Regions from separate parts of the Homo sapiens genome. Here regions 2, 3 and 4 are each linked to region 1. The links are contacts of gene promoters, found by promoter capture Hi-C in blood cells and fetal thymus (Javierre and others, 2016). All regions are on one chromosome and are shown on one strand. The core of a region is centred on a gene start or on the middle of the fragment in contact, and the rest is flanking DNA. Distances in the headings are between cores, read along the strand shown.

What was found. Contacts are between HindIII fragments. The CHiCAGO score rates a contact against its expected background, and 5 or more counts as called.
Region 2: a fragment that was not itself captured here is called in contact with the fragment with the promoter of RAD18 in region 1 in 1 of 17 cell types (total B cells); the score reaches 5.5 in total B cells.
Region 3: a fragment that was not itself captured here is called in contact with the fragment with the promoter of RAD18 in region 1 in 5 of 17 cell types (non-activated CD4 T cells, naive B cells, total CD4 T cells and 2 more); the score reaches 8.7 in non-activated CD4 T cells.
Region 4: a contact is called between a fragment that was not itself captured here and the fragment with the promoter of RAD18 in region 1, in 1 of 17 cell types (total B cells). The highest score is 5.9, in total B cells.

The regions. Positions count from the first base shown.
Region 1 is chr3:8,961,740-8,965,027 of GRCh38, reverse strand. RAD18 (RAD18 E3 ubiquitin protein ligase) reads left to right here and starts at 1,556. Exons shown (of 13, transcript NM_020165.4): 1 at 1,556-1,693. The coding sequence starts at 1,643. RefSeq lists an enhancer at 1,539-1,708. The HindIII fragment of the contact is 5,728 bases long and covers 1-2,016 here.
Region 2 is chr3:11,282,710-11,285,938 of GRCh38, reverse strand. All of the region lies in intron 3 of ATG7 (autophagy related 7), which reads right to left. Among named protein-coding and RNA genes, the nearest start is that of ATG7, 12 kb to the right of the region's middle. The HindIII fragment of the contact is 7,946 bases long and covers 1-3,229 here.
Region 3 is chr3:11,261,948-11,265,141 of GRCh38, reverse strand. HRH1 (histamine receptor H1) reads right to left here. Exons shown (of 2, transcript NM_001098212.2): 2 at 1,585-3,194. Among named protein-coding and RNA genes, the nearest start is that of ATG7, 8.9 kb to the left of the region's middle. The HindIII fragment of the contact is 2,532 bases long and covers 156-2,687 here.
Region 4 is chr3:11,849,165-11,852,391 of GRCh38, reverse strand. No RefSeq gene overlaps it. Among named protein-coding and RNA genes, the nearest start is that of TAMM41, 3.9 kb to the right of the region's middle. The HindIII fragment of the contact is 1,052 bases long and covers 845-1,896 here.

The DNA of each region.
Region 1 (3,288 bases), core at 307-2,806:
ACCCACCAGCTATTGGCAGACACTCAGAGATGAATGGCACCGCATCCTGTCCTGGAGGCTCTCCATAGATAGGGAAATGTATTTTGGCCCCAGGACTAACAAGTACTGCCTCCTTCCAAATCTGTCTCCATGGTTGAATGCAAAAAGTACATTCCTGTCCCTGTCTTTTCTCTCTCTCCCTTTCTCCTTACCCATTCTTTCTCTTTTTTCTCATCTCCTCTCTCTTCCTCTCTCACCTTCCCAGCCATTTGTCACCTTAAACCTAATTACCTTGTCCAACTAGTAGTGTGAAAAAAACAATTACTGGTTCACTCAGGCCACGGACCTGGTCTTAAATGCTTTTCCTTTGTCTCTCCAAGACCCCACTTCCTCCACATCCAGAACTATCCGACATTTTCCAGCTCAGCCTGGCATTCATTTGCGTTCATTTGCATGCCGTTCTATGATTGGCTGATACAAAGTGGGGGGCGGGGGTGGACACCGTAAACCTCCATTCCTCATGCATTTAATATAACATGTATGAAAAAAAGTATCTATATTTATATCTCGTTTAAGAAAAAAATTGTTCAATGATACTTGTTAAAGCACAATAAGGAAGACTTAATCAGGACAATTCAAGTAGGTATAGAGACCACTGGAACTGTGTCTTGCAATTGGTGAAAACTGGGCTCAACTCTGAATACAACATGGGCAAATGGAAATTTATAGCCAGGAAGCAGGGTGGGGAGCAGTGCATGAAAAATTACTAAGAGGAAACATCAGAGGTAACAGTAGATTCTTGCTGAAGAGGCCAGGGTGATCAGACATCAACTGGGGGATGGTGGAGGATGAGGAACACATCAGATATCAAGAGTGATCACATATCAAAGGTGGGGATTCTTGGTAACTTGATTTAGCAGGGTTTTTTGCTAAAACTGGATTTTTACAGGAAGTACACAGATTGGCCTAGGAGAAGGTTCAGGAGCCTGACTAAAGTTTGCTCAAGCAAAGAATCTTCGTCAATCTGCATAGGAAATATCTAGAAGGCTATATGCCAAAGTTAATGGTGCTTCTCTCCGAAGAAAAAGAAAAACCGTGCATTAAAATTTTAATATGAATAAAAGCAACAGCTCCCATTTAAAGCCCAGAGGTCCTGTTTGGAATCTGACTCGAAACTCTATCCACTTTTTCGGGCGTAGGCTTCTCTTGTGTAAACTGACAATGATAACATCTACCTCCCAGTGTTGTGATACGGGAGACATAAAGTAATGGATATAAAAACTTCTGTTCAGAGCAAGGACGGATAGTCACTGCGATTAGGGTGGGCGACCCGGAGGGGGGTCATGAGCCTGGACCTTGACAGATCTGGTGAGGTCTGGATTTGGTTTGATTCCTGGCTATCTTTTCTTAATATTCAACTGGCTCTACGCTTTTTAACCATTCACTTTCTTCAAGGTAAGTGCGGCAGAAGCCTGGCGCATGCGCAGTACAAGCCCTTAAGCGGCGCCCCGCCCACATACTACTACAACTTCCGGCAGGCTCCGCGCCCGCCTCTGGCGCGTCGCGGGCTGCTGACGTAATGCGGTAGCGCGGGGAATTTCGAGTGGTGTTGGAGCGCCGGAGGCTAGTGGGTGGCTGACCCCCAGCATCCTCGGGAGCGACCATGGACTCCCTGGCCGAGTCTCGGTGGCCTCCGGGCCTGGCAGTCATGAAGGTGAGTGCTTCGGGGAGTTTGGGAGCTCCCGGGTGTCTGCGGGGGGAGGTCCCTCCCTTTGAGGAGGATGTCCTCGCCTTAAGGAGAAAGGATGAGGCGCGAGCGTCGCACTGGGCCCGGGTATCCGGCTCTGCCCTGCCACTAGCCGACCGCGTGGCTCTGGGTCTCAGTTTACTCCTCTGATAAGTGACAAGGACAAGCCTGGTGAGCTGAGGTTGGCAGTCTTATGGCACCAGCTATTCTGCGATCCAATCCCAACAATAACATGGAGAAAAACAGTTATTCCAAACAATGACATCGACAGCTGTTCTTTACTGAAAGCTTACTTTGTGTCAAGCACTAAACAGTGACACCGGACATGATTTTGGGTGGACACTTTATCAGATAACATGTATGTAATCACGTAGCCAAGCAGGTAGTCTCCTTTACAGGCTCTTTCATTTCTTCTGATTATTCTCAATAAACGTAGTGCTCGTTTGTTCTGACATACTGCCCCAACTCCTCTCTAACACACCTTCACTCTTCTCTAACAATTGCTCATGTCTCTTAAACAGAGATCAGGACTCAGGCTCAGCGCTGATCTTGCATTGCGTCTGATTATTTCACTTAAATAACATTTATTTTTGTGGCCACTTTCTGTTTTGGCAAGGCATACCAGTTTCCATTTACAGTAGTGGTGGGCCCTGGATTTGCTCAAGAGCAGATGCACTTTGCTGTGCTGGATAAAGATCAGTTGCTTGGTGTTTCTTCTTGCTCTGTGATTATTTCCGTTTCTCACAGTGGCTAAGATAGCCTTCTTCTCCCTCAGTTTTGTAGACTTGGGGATTATAATACCTGTCCCACTGACTCATAAATTTGACTTTAGAATTAAGTGAAGGCTAAAGTAAGTAGAAGGCCTTGTTCTTCCTGCTGTCATCAGTGACGTCTAGAGTGCTTGGGGACTTGAGATATCTGCATGATGAGAAGCTGACATTGTGAAATGATCCAGGAAAGCTGTAGTTTTGGAGTTGTGGGCTTGGCACCAGGATGCAGTGGAGAAGAGCACAGATTTGAGTTCCAGTGGTCCTGGGTGAAATCTCCTGTCTGCCTCTTGACTGTATGACCTTCGGTTAGTAACTTAACCTCTCTGAGCCTGAATTTCTTCAACTATAAATTAGAGACAAAAATAACAGTTCATAGGATTGATTAAATAAATTAGTTGATGTATGTGGGCACAGATTCTGCTGTGTATTCACTGTGCTTACTGCAGTGCCTGACACCAAGTGGGTGCTCAAATATTATTTGCTGCTTGATTGAAAGTATCTGGAATGTAGTAAGCATTCAATGAATATATTTTATTATTATTAGCACTGTGTTAAGTGCTTCTTTCCCCTTTTAATTTGTTGTCATGAAGCTTGACTTGGATAAGGAAAGTAAAAGAGCTCTGTAACCTGTAAAGCTCCTGCTTTGTAGATTTAAGCACACTTTACATATTCCCACAATTTCAGTGTTCTTTAGAGGCGGGTTCCATGTCTTCTCTGACTTTGGTATCTCACCACAGCACTGAATGTAGAGTTTGGCACCACAGAGCGTTCAGTGAGTGTTCAACCAGAGAG
Region 2 (3,229 bases), core at 559-3,058, 2.3 Mb before region 1:
CAAAGACGTGACAGCTGGGGACCACGTGTGATCCTGGGATGATGCTCCACTATAAAAGGACATTATTGGGACAAAAACTGAATGGGAGTCTCTGGGAGATGGATAAATAGAAGGTATCTGTCTTATTCTTGTAGAATTTCTGTAAGTTTGAAACTGTTCCAAAATAAAATAGTAAGAATAATTTTATCTTACTATTAAGATAAAAGCTGTGTGTCACACACAGCTTTATACGTTGTTCAACAGGCAAAACCAATCAACCTGACAGAAGTTAGAATGGTGATTACAGGGTGAGGTGGAGCTACTGACTTGAGAAGGCCACGAGGAAGGCTCCTGGGGAGATGGAAATATTCTGTATCTTGAGCTGGGTGGTGGTTACAAGGCATATACCTATGTAAAAAGCCACAAGCTAAACATTTGCTATCAGTGCACTTTATGTATGTTATCCATGAATAAAGAAGTAAAATAGGGCTGGGTGCAGTGGCTCACACCTGTAATCCCCACACTTTGGGAGGCTGAAGGAGGACTGCTTGAGCCCAGGAGTTCAAGACCAGCCTGGGCAACACGGTGGGCCCCCATCTCTACAAAAAATAAAAAAAAATTGCCAGGCACCTGTAGTCCCAGCTACTTGGGAGGCTGAGGTGGGAGGTGGGAGGATCACTTGAACCCAGGAGGTCGAGTCTGCAGTGAGCCGTGATTGTGCCACTGAACTCCAGCCTGCGTGACAGGGTGAGAATCTGTCACAGGAAGGAATTTAAAAAAAAAAAAAAGGCCGGGCTTTTAAAAAAAAAAAAAAAAAAAAGGTGGCTCACACCTGTAATCCTAGCACTCTGGGAGGCCGAGGTGGGCAAATCATGAGGTCAGGAGATCAAGACCATCCTGGCTAACACGGTGAAACCCCGTCTCTACTGAAAATACAAAAAAAAAATTAGCTGGGCATGGTGGCGGGCGCCTATAGTCCCAACTACTTGGGAGGCTGAGGCAGGAGAATGGCGTGAACCCGGGAGGCGGAGCTTGCAGTGAGCCAAGATTGCGCACCTGCACTCCAGCCTGGGCGACAGAGCAAGACTCCGTCTCAAAAAAAAAAAAAAAGGCCAGGCACAGTGGCTCACACTTGTAATCCTAGCACTTTGGGAGGCCAAAGCAGGATGATCACTTGAGCCCAGACAAGACCACTCTAGGCAACATAGTAAGATATCATCTCCACAAATAATTTTAAAAAATTATTATGGAGTGGTGGTGCACGCCTGTGGTCCCGACTACTCAGGAGGCTGAGACAGGAGGATCGCCTGAGCCCAGGCAATCCAAGCTGCAGTGAGCCATGACTGCACCACTGTATTCCAGCCTGGGCAACAGAGCAAGACCCCGTCTCAAAAAATAAAATAAAATAAAAAAGTAGAACAAAACCCCTATCTTTAAACCATACCAGTCCTACGAAGAGAACCTTCATTTATTCATCCAACAGTTAACAGATGACCTACTTAAATTTAGCTTTGGTAAAAAGCAATTCATTACTCTAAATAAGTAGCCTAAATGAGAAATCATTTCCATAAAGTTTTCTGGCATTTTGTGACTAAAGAAGCTAAGGATGGAATTATTTTGGCTTGGCTGCTTATAGAATTAATTGAAGCAGGAGTGCTTCCTGGAGTGAGACCGCCCAACCATTCTCCCTCTAGGATTGGACACAGCAAATAATCAAGCCAGTATAGGATTTTTTAAAATGAAGAAGTGTAGGATATTTTTTAATGAAGAAATACAGGATTTTTTAAATGAAGAAGTAATTCACTTTAAAGTGAAGAAGTAATTGTAGAAAATAAAAAACAGAGGGAGAGAAAAAAACAAAAACAAAAAGAACCTGTCTTTAGGGGAAGCTAGACACACAGGCCTCTAGTTTCCATAAACCAGCCTGACAATGCTAAAAATTATCACACTCTGATTTTTCTGTGTGTTTTAGTTTTTTGTCTGTTTGCTTTAGGAGAGCAGGGGAGTTTTTTTGGTTTGTTTTTCTTTGAGACAGAGTCTCGTTCTGTCGTCCAGGCTGGAGTGCAATGGCGTGATCTCGGCTCACTGCAACCTCCGTCTACCGGGTTCAAGCGATTCTCCTGCCTTGGCCTCCCACATAGCTGGGATTACAGGCATGCGCCACCATGCCCAGCTAATATTTGTATTTTTAGTAGGGTTTTGCTTTGTTGGCCAGGCTGGTCTCAAACTCCTGACCCCAGGTGATCCACCTGCCTTGGCCTCCCAAAGTGCTAGGATTACTAGGCGTGAGCCACCATGTCCACCACAAGCAGGAGAGTTTTTAATGGTTCAGGGAAAGGATGCTAAAAGGAGAGGTAATGTAATGCAGTCAGGAATCAGGTCTTTATACAGATGAACCCGAGTGTGGATTCCACCTCCACCTCCTATTGGCTGAGAAGCCTAGGGCAGGTTAGGGCAGGTTCCTTCACCCCCCTGCACCTGGATTTACTCAGGTGTAAGATAAGGACAGGTATAACTACTCTAGAACTTGCTGGGAGGGCTAAATGTTTGTGAGGTGCTTGCTACAGTGCCTGGCATACAGCAAGCAGTCAATAAATGGTAGCTGCTGGTAGTTTTTCTTGTCACTGCCCCATATTAGCCAACAATGCCTGACTAATGTGGTTCCCCTTCCCCATGCTCACTATGAAAATTTCCTCTGCCTAAAACATGCCTCATTTAAAGCCTACCTCCCTCAAAAGAGCTCTGCAAGCACAACAGAGGCTTAATTAAAAGGAAATGGTCAGTCTCCCACTACAGGTCATCGAGAAGTCCAAAAGAACAAGTTCTAAAGGGCAGCGAGCACTCAGTGTCCGATTTCTCTGAGCCCATGTGGGGCCATTCACTTAGCAGAAGTGCCAGAATAACTGCAATTTGGCCCTGAAGTGCCTTCTCTGGGCCAAAATGGAGCACACAGAGCAGGCTTCTATTCTCATTTTCCCAGCTGCAGGGCTGCAAGCTCTGGCAGTCATTAAAATAAGCACCAAACCACATGACCAAGTCCCGCTGACAAACAGCATATGTTCTTAGCTGCTGATGTGTAAAAAGGAGGTAGAGATCACCAGGAGTCGGGAGGGGGCTGCTTTGGCATATGGAGCCAATGCACATTTTATAGACAAATGATGCTTCTGCAACCTCATGAGTTTCAGAAACAATCTGCAAGGCTGTTAAAGAGGGAGGTTTAAAGCCTTCTCTTCCAAAAGAAGGGAAAAAG
Region 3 (3,194 bases), core at 172-2,671, 2.3 Mb before region 1:
AGGGATGTCACCTCTTATATGAAGGCATGCCTTATACCCACCACCTCTAGGCTTTACTCTATTGAGCATATATGAGCCTAAGTTAAAGTTAGTTCTTTATAAGTTTGACTCTACTGCTGGGTTTTGTGATTTTATAATGAACACCTTTTAAAGCTTCTGCCGAACTCACAGTAATCCTTGCTTCTCTGGGAACTGCTGATTCTCCAGCTATGTTTGTACCACCTGTGCCACCCCAGCCTCCACCCCCTCCAGAGTTGACTGGAGTAAAGTGGACACAGGACGATTCTTTATCCTGAGTTTGGGACTTTTGAACTGATGTTCATAGAGTGGGAATAGGATTAGTTTATGTAGATCATTGGCAGTATCCTAGAGAGGGAGTTTCCTTGAATTCTTAGCTTGAGATTCCTATGGCTGACTTGTCTCAAGCCCTCCTCAAGGCAAAGTCATCCAAAGTATCACTAGATTCCACAAAGCATGCCATGCTATGTGGCTTGAACATTTGTCCTCTCCAAAACTCATGTTAAAATTTAATTGCCATTGTGATCATATTGGGAAGTGGGATCTTTAAGAAGTGTTTAGGTCATGGGTTTCCACTCTCATGAATGCACTAATGCTGTTATCATGGGAGTGAGTTCTTTATTACAGGAGTGGGATTGCTCCCTTTTGCTCTCTCTTGCCCTCTCTTTGCTCTTCCATCATGTCATGATGCATCAGGAAGGTCCTCACCAGATGCCAGCACATTGATATTAGACTTACCAGCCTCCAGAACTGTGAGCCAATAAATTTCTATTCATTATAAATTACCCAGTCTGTGATATTCTGTTATAGGAGCACAAAACAGACTTAAGATACTCTAGTAACTATTCACAAAGTTGATTTCTGTCACTTGCAAACCTGAAGTAGCTCCACAGGGTTGAAATCATGTCTTTCTGGCTCAGGCCAGACATAAGAAGTGCTGGAAAAATATTTGTTAATTAACAGATAAGGTCTGGGAATCCAAAATAGATATGGGGACCAGAGCTAATGATTGCTCAGACGACAAATGAGGCTTCCTTGTTAGCAGGAAGATAGGGTGAGGCTAAGGAAGAAGACCTGCCTCTGCTGCCTGGAATGGGATAGGCAGACCATTGGGGCTCCAAGACCATGGAGCATTAAGAAAGATGCAGACCCAGGAGACTTAAAGAGGCAGAGAATGTTCTCAGACACAGCAGGGTCATGAGGCCCTGTGACACTTATTCAAGGCTACAGTGATTCAGGTCAATCCACCTTCATCATTTGTCTTGCATCTGAGTTGAGAAGAGTACATGCTCCCCACAATGAGAATTATATGTCACGTCAAGCTAGGCTTTGAAAGCCTGACAAATTGTGGAATGATAAATATTGGCAAATAAGATCTTTAACAGCATGTTTCTATATTTTATTTTATTTTATATTTCATTTCATTTCATTTCATTTTAAGACAGAGTCTCTCTCTGTCACCCAGGCTGGAGTGCAGTGGCCCAATCTTGGTTCACTGCAGCCTCAACTTTCTGGGCTCAAGTGATCCTCCTGCCTCAGCCCCCCAAGTAGTTGGGACTGCAGGTGTGCGTCACAGCCCCTGGCTAATTTTTTATTTTTAGTAGAGACAGGATTTCACCATGGTGCCCAGGCTTGTCTCGAACTCCTGGACTCCAGCCATCTGCCCGCGTCAGCCTCCCAGTGTGCTGGGATTACAGGCATGAGCCACCATGCCTTGCCAACAGCATGTCTCTATGGCACTTAGGGTGCATAAATAGCCAGGAGCATCCCAGCATCTTTTTCATGCTGAGTTAAGACTATTAAATCCACCTCCTGGAAGTCCATGCAGTGCCCATCTTCAAAAGAGGTCAGAGATTGTCCACAAGCCAAGTAGCCAAATGACCAATTTATTAAAGCCATTAGCCACTGATGGGCTGGGGCTTTCTTAGTGGGCTGGGGCTGACATTTCTGTATCATAGTCTGTTGTCTTTTATACATTCAAAAATTAATTTCCATCGTTCAGACAGGAGTACGAAGAGCAGATTGATAAAGTGGAAAGGAAGCACATTCCAGAATCAGACCTCGGAGCAGTTCCTCAATCTCTCTGGGCCTCAGTTTGCCTATTTGTAAAGATGGAAATCTCCCTCATGAGGTTGTTGTAAAGGCAACATTACATAATGGCACCAATACCATTAGATAACATTAGATAAAACACAAAGCCTGGCACATGGTATGTGCTCAGCATGTTTTAAAAATGCATAGGAGTGCCCTCTGTATACCAGACACTATACAAGCACTAGAGACACTGTATACAATAATGCATAGACCTTGTTCCTTAGACGCTGGTAATTTATATTTATTGACCATTTCTTGTTCTTGTCAGACTCAAATCCAGGTCTCTCTGACCCAGAGGCAGAGCTCACAATCAGTTCTCTCCACTAGTTGCCTTGATTGTTCAAGGTAAATAATGGACACTTAGCCACTTGTCTGTGTGAAGTGCTCTTTTCGAGTGTTCTTTGGTCCTGAGGGACCCTGAGGAGCAACTCTCTCACAGGGAGGTCTTCTGAACAATGGTTTCTGACCTGGAAACAGACCAGCTGCAGCTTCTGAAACCGGGATTAAAGTCTCCTAAACTCCCCCCGTTTTGAACAAGAAGTTTGGGGGATGCAAAGCAGAGTGAGAATGAAGCTTTTTACAAAAAGTAAATCCTTTTGAAAAGACATTTACAAATGTGATGAGAAACCAAAGAGAAAGCCCATATCAAACTCTGTTAACATTTGATGGTACATTTCAAAACATCTTCTTAGTCCAAGAGACTCAGAAAGGTAGAAATAAATAAATCACATAGAGTATGCTTTTAAACATCATATTTTAGGCAGGTAAAAATATCTCACTTTGACAGATCATGCAAAGAGGAACACAAAATACAAAACATCAGCTTGTACAGGCACTCCATATGCTATACATATTGTGGTTTAGCACCAAGCTTTAAAATATAAATCACAACCAGATTGCAACATAAACACCAAGTAAAACTACATGTTCCTATGTCTTTACTAGTTTTTGCTTACCAGGTATGGCTATGAAAGATTACAATGACTTTTTGACAAACACAACAGAACTCACAGATAAAAATGCACTTGGTTCCTTCAAAGCGTCCCCTTCCGTAGGTGCACGGGAACTCCATGTCAGCTGTT
Region 4 (3,227 bases), core at 121-2,620, 2.9 Mb before region 1:
AGGATTCTAAGACCCAGTATGGAGGCAATTCTTTCTTCTTAGAATTTTTTCACGGTGTACTCTCTGGTGAACTGCTGGTCATCTTCCAAGGTCTAATCCAAATGTCATCCCTCTAAGAAGCTTTCCCAGAAACCCTGAAGAAAAAGTAACCCCTGCTGTCTTACCATTGCGGTGGTATAGATCTGGTTTATACTCTCCATAGTGTATTTTTTTTTGCATGCATGTGAATTTTTTGCCACCAGACTATAACATTTGCAAATGCAGAAATTTTGTTTCAGGCACTGTACTAGGCACTAAAGGACAGAAAGATTAATAAGATATGGTTCCTGACCTCAAAGGGCCCCTAAGCCTTTTATAATTGTACTTGATGGACATATCTGATATTTAAGACAAGAGCTAGAGAGCTAAAAGCAAAGGGTTAGGAAGGCACAGAGAACAGAACACTTTGATAGCTGAGCTGGGACTAAAGGATGAGGAAGGTTTCAATGGGAGAATGAATCAATGAATGAATGGGTCCCTTGGTGAAATGAACACCCCGTGTTATTTTTCTCGTGCAAGAGGAAAGGGATTGGACTTGGAGGCTGTATTAGCAGCTGCCATTAGCCCTGTGACTTCAGGCACATCAATTCTTTTTTCTAAGCTTCAGTTTATCCATCTGTAAAACTGAAATAGTAGCTACTAATTTCCCAGGATTTGTTTTAAGAGCTAAATAAAATCATGTCTGCAAAGTGCTTTGTGTAAAATGCTAAACGCCATAAAGATGTAGGTATAATTATGCTTCTTAATTCCTTTTGTACATTGTCTCTTAAGAATTCAGGAGGATGTCCTCCGTTTATTGAAAGCTTACTCCAGGCACTATTCTATGTACTTTCTAGATACTGTTTCATTTGCTGTCACAACAACCCTGTGAGTGAGGTGTCATTACTCTCCCCAGGCTGCAGATGAGGAAAGGAAAGCACAGAGAGGCTAAGTCTTCTTGTCCAAGGTCACACAGCTATTAAATCCTGGGGCCTGGATTCCAACCCAGGTGGTACCTTCAAGCCCCTGATCAGACACTAAAGATGTATTAAGATGCTCTCAGTTGGCTGGGCATAGTGGCTCACGCCTGTAATTCCAGCACTTTGGGAGGCCTAGGTGGGTGGATTGTTCGAGCTCAAGGGTTCAAGACCAGCCTGGACAACATGGTGAAACCCCATTCTCTACAAAAATACAAAAATTAGCCTGGTGTGGTAGTACATGCCTGTAATCCCAGCTACTCAGGAGGCTGAGGTGGGAGGATCACTCGAGCCTGGGAGGCAGAGGTTACAGTGAGCCGAGATCGTGCCACTGCACTCCAGCCTGGGTGACAGAGTGAAACCCTGTCTCAAAAAAAAAAAAAAAAAAAAAAGAAAAGAAAAGAAAAAAAGAAAAGAAAAGAAAGAAAAGAAAAGAAAAAACGAAAAAATGCTCCCAGTCTGTCCCAGTTCTAACCATCAATCAGCCGAGAATGGACAAATGGGACAGGGTGACCCACCTCTGACAAGATGGAGATCAAGACCCCTCTCCTTCCCCTCCATCAGCAGACCAATTGAACATGTGGCTAATTGTAAGAACCACTGAGCCTGGATTTTTATTCTTCCCCAAACATTTTTCTCTCCTGTACTTAAACACTGATTAGAAAAAAAAAAAAAAAGCATTAAAGCCATAGATGTTTTTTTACAGGGCTTTAAAAAAAATGGATTACATGGATTCGATGAACCTTCTCCTAGTGAAAGCCTGACAAGGTCATTATTAAGGAATACAAAGACAACTGCTAGATAAATCAGAAGAATGAGGCCCAATATTCACTCGAGTCACCAGGCATTTATCTATATTTGTAAGTGGCTCTCTAACATGTTTATTTCATTGGTATAAGCTTTCCAACAGAACCCTAAAGCGATTATATAGAACACTGGGTCTTCCTAATAGCCTCTAATTTCACAAGCCATGGTAATTTAAAAGAGAGTGGGTGGATGAAGGGCCAGGAGCAGGGAGATTTCTGCTGAAGAATACAAATGTGTTCGTGGCTACGTTGCTTCTGCCTCTTTCTGGGGAAAGGCAAAATGCACACAGGAATGTGATGGAACCTTCCAGCTGGTGGTTTTGCATTGCAGGAAGAAAAGTGTTTGTGAACATGAAAATTGCTGATAATTGGGTGTGAACGCCTGTAAGGGAGACAAATGGAGAAACATTGCAGCATCTTTATTTCTATCAAGGGCTGAACTCTGCTGGTGGGTGTGTGAATTGGCACCATCTTTTGGAGGGGAATTTAGCAGCGTGCTGACACTCTGACCCAGCAATTCCCCTTCTAGGAATCTGTCTTATAGCAATACTTGTTCATGCACATAAAATGTACAAGGATGCTCATGATAGCATTGTTTGCAGGTGTGAAAACTAGAAATAACCTACATCCATCAACAATAAAATGTTTAAACAGGCCAGGATGCCTGTAACCCCAGCACTTTGGGAGGCCGAGGCGGGTGGATCACTTGAGGTCAGGAGTTCGAGACCAGCCTGGCCAACATAGTGAAACCCCTGTCTCTACGAAAAATACAAAACTTAGCCAGATGTGGTGGCGGGCACCTGTAATCCCAGCTACTCAGGAGGCTGAGGCAGGAGAATCACTTCAACCCGGATGGTGGAGGTTGCAGGGAGCCTAGATTGTGCCACTGCACTCCAGCCTGGGTGACAGAGCAAGACTCGCTCTCAAAAAAAAAAAAAAAAAAAGAAAGAAACAAAAGAAAAGAAGAAAGAAAGAAAGAGAAAGAAAATGTTTAAACACTTTCTTTTAAACAAAAAATTTTAAACAAAATTATGGCATATCCATATCTTAGAATAATTTGCTACTAATACATGGAATGAGGGAAATCTATATATTCTGACACAGAACATTGTCCCTGATACGCTAAGTGCAAAAAAAGCAAATTGCAAAATAGTATCTATCCTAGGAATCCACTTAAAATTGTTTTTAATGTTAATATATTCATAGAAAAATATTGGAAGGAATATGTGCCAAAGATTACCGTGGCTATTTCTGGGGCATGATGTATGTATTTCATAATGTTTACATTTTTATGAACATGGATTACTTTTGCAAACAGGAAAAATCCAATGACGTTGAATTATTTCCCCAAGGGAAGGAAGGAAATAAAAAAGGAACCGGCTGGTAATGAGATTTATTCACTGTCTTTGGGTGAGAGGCTTCAGTG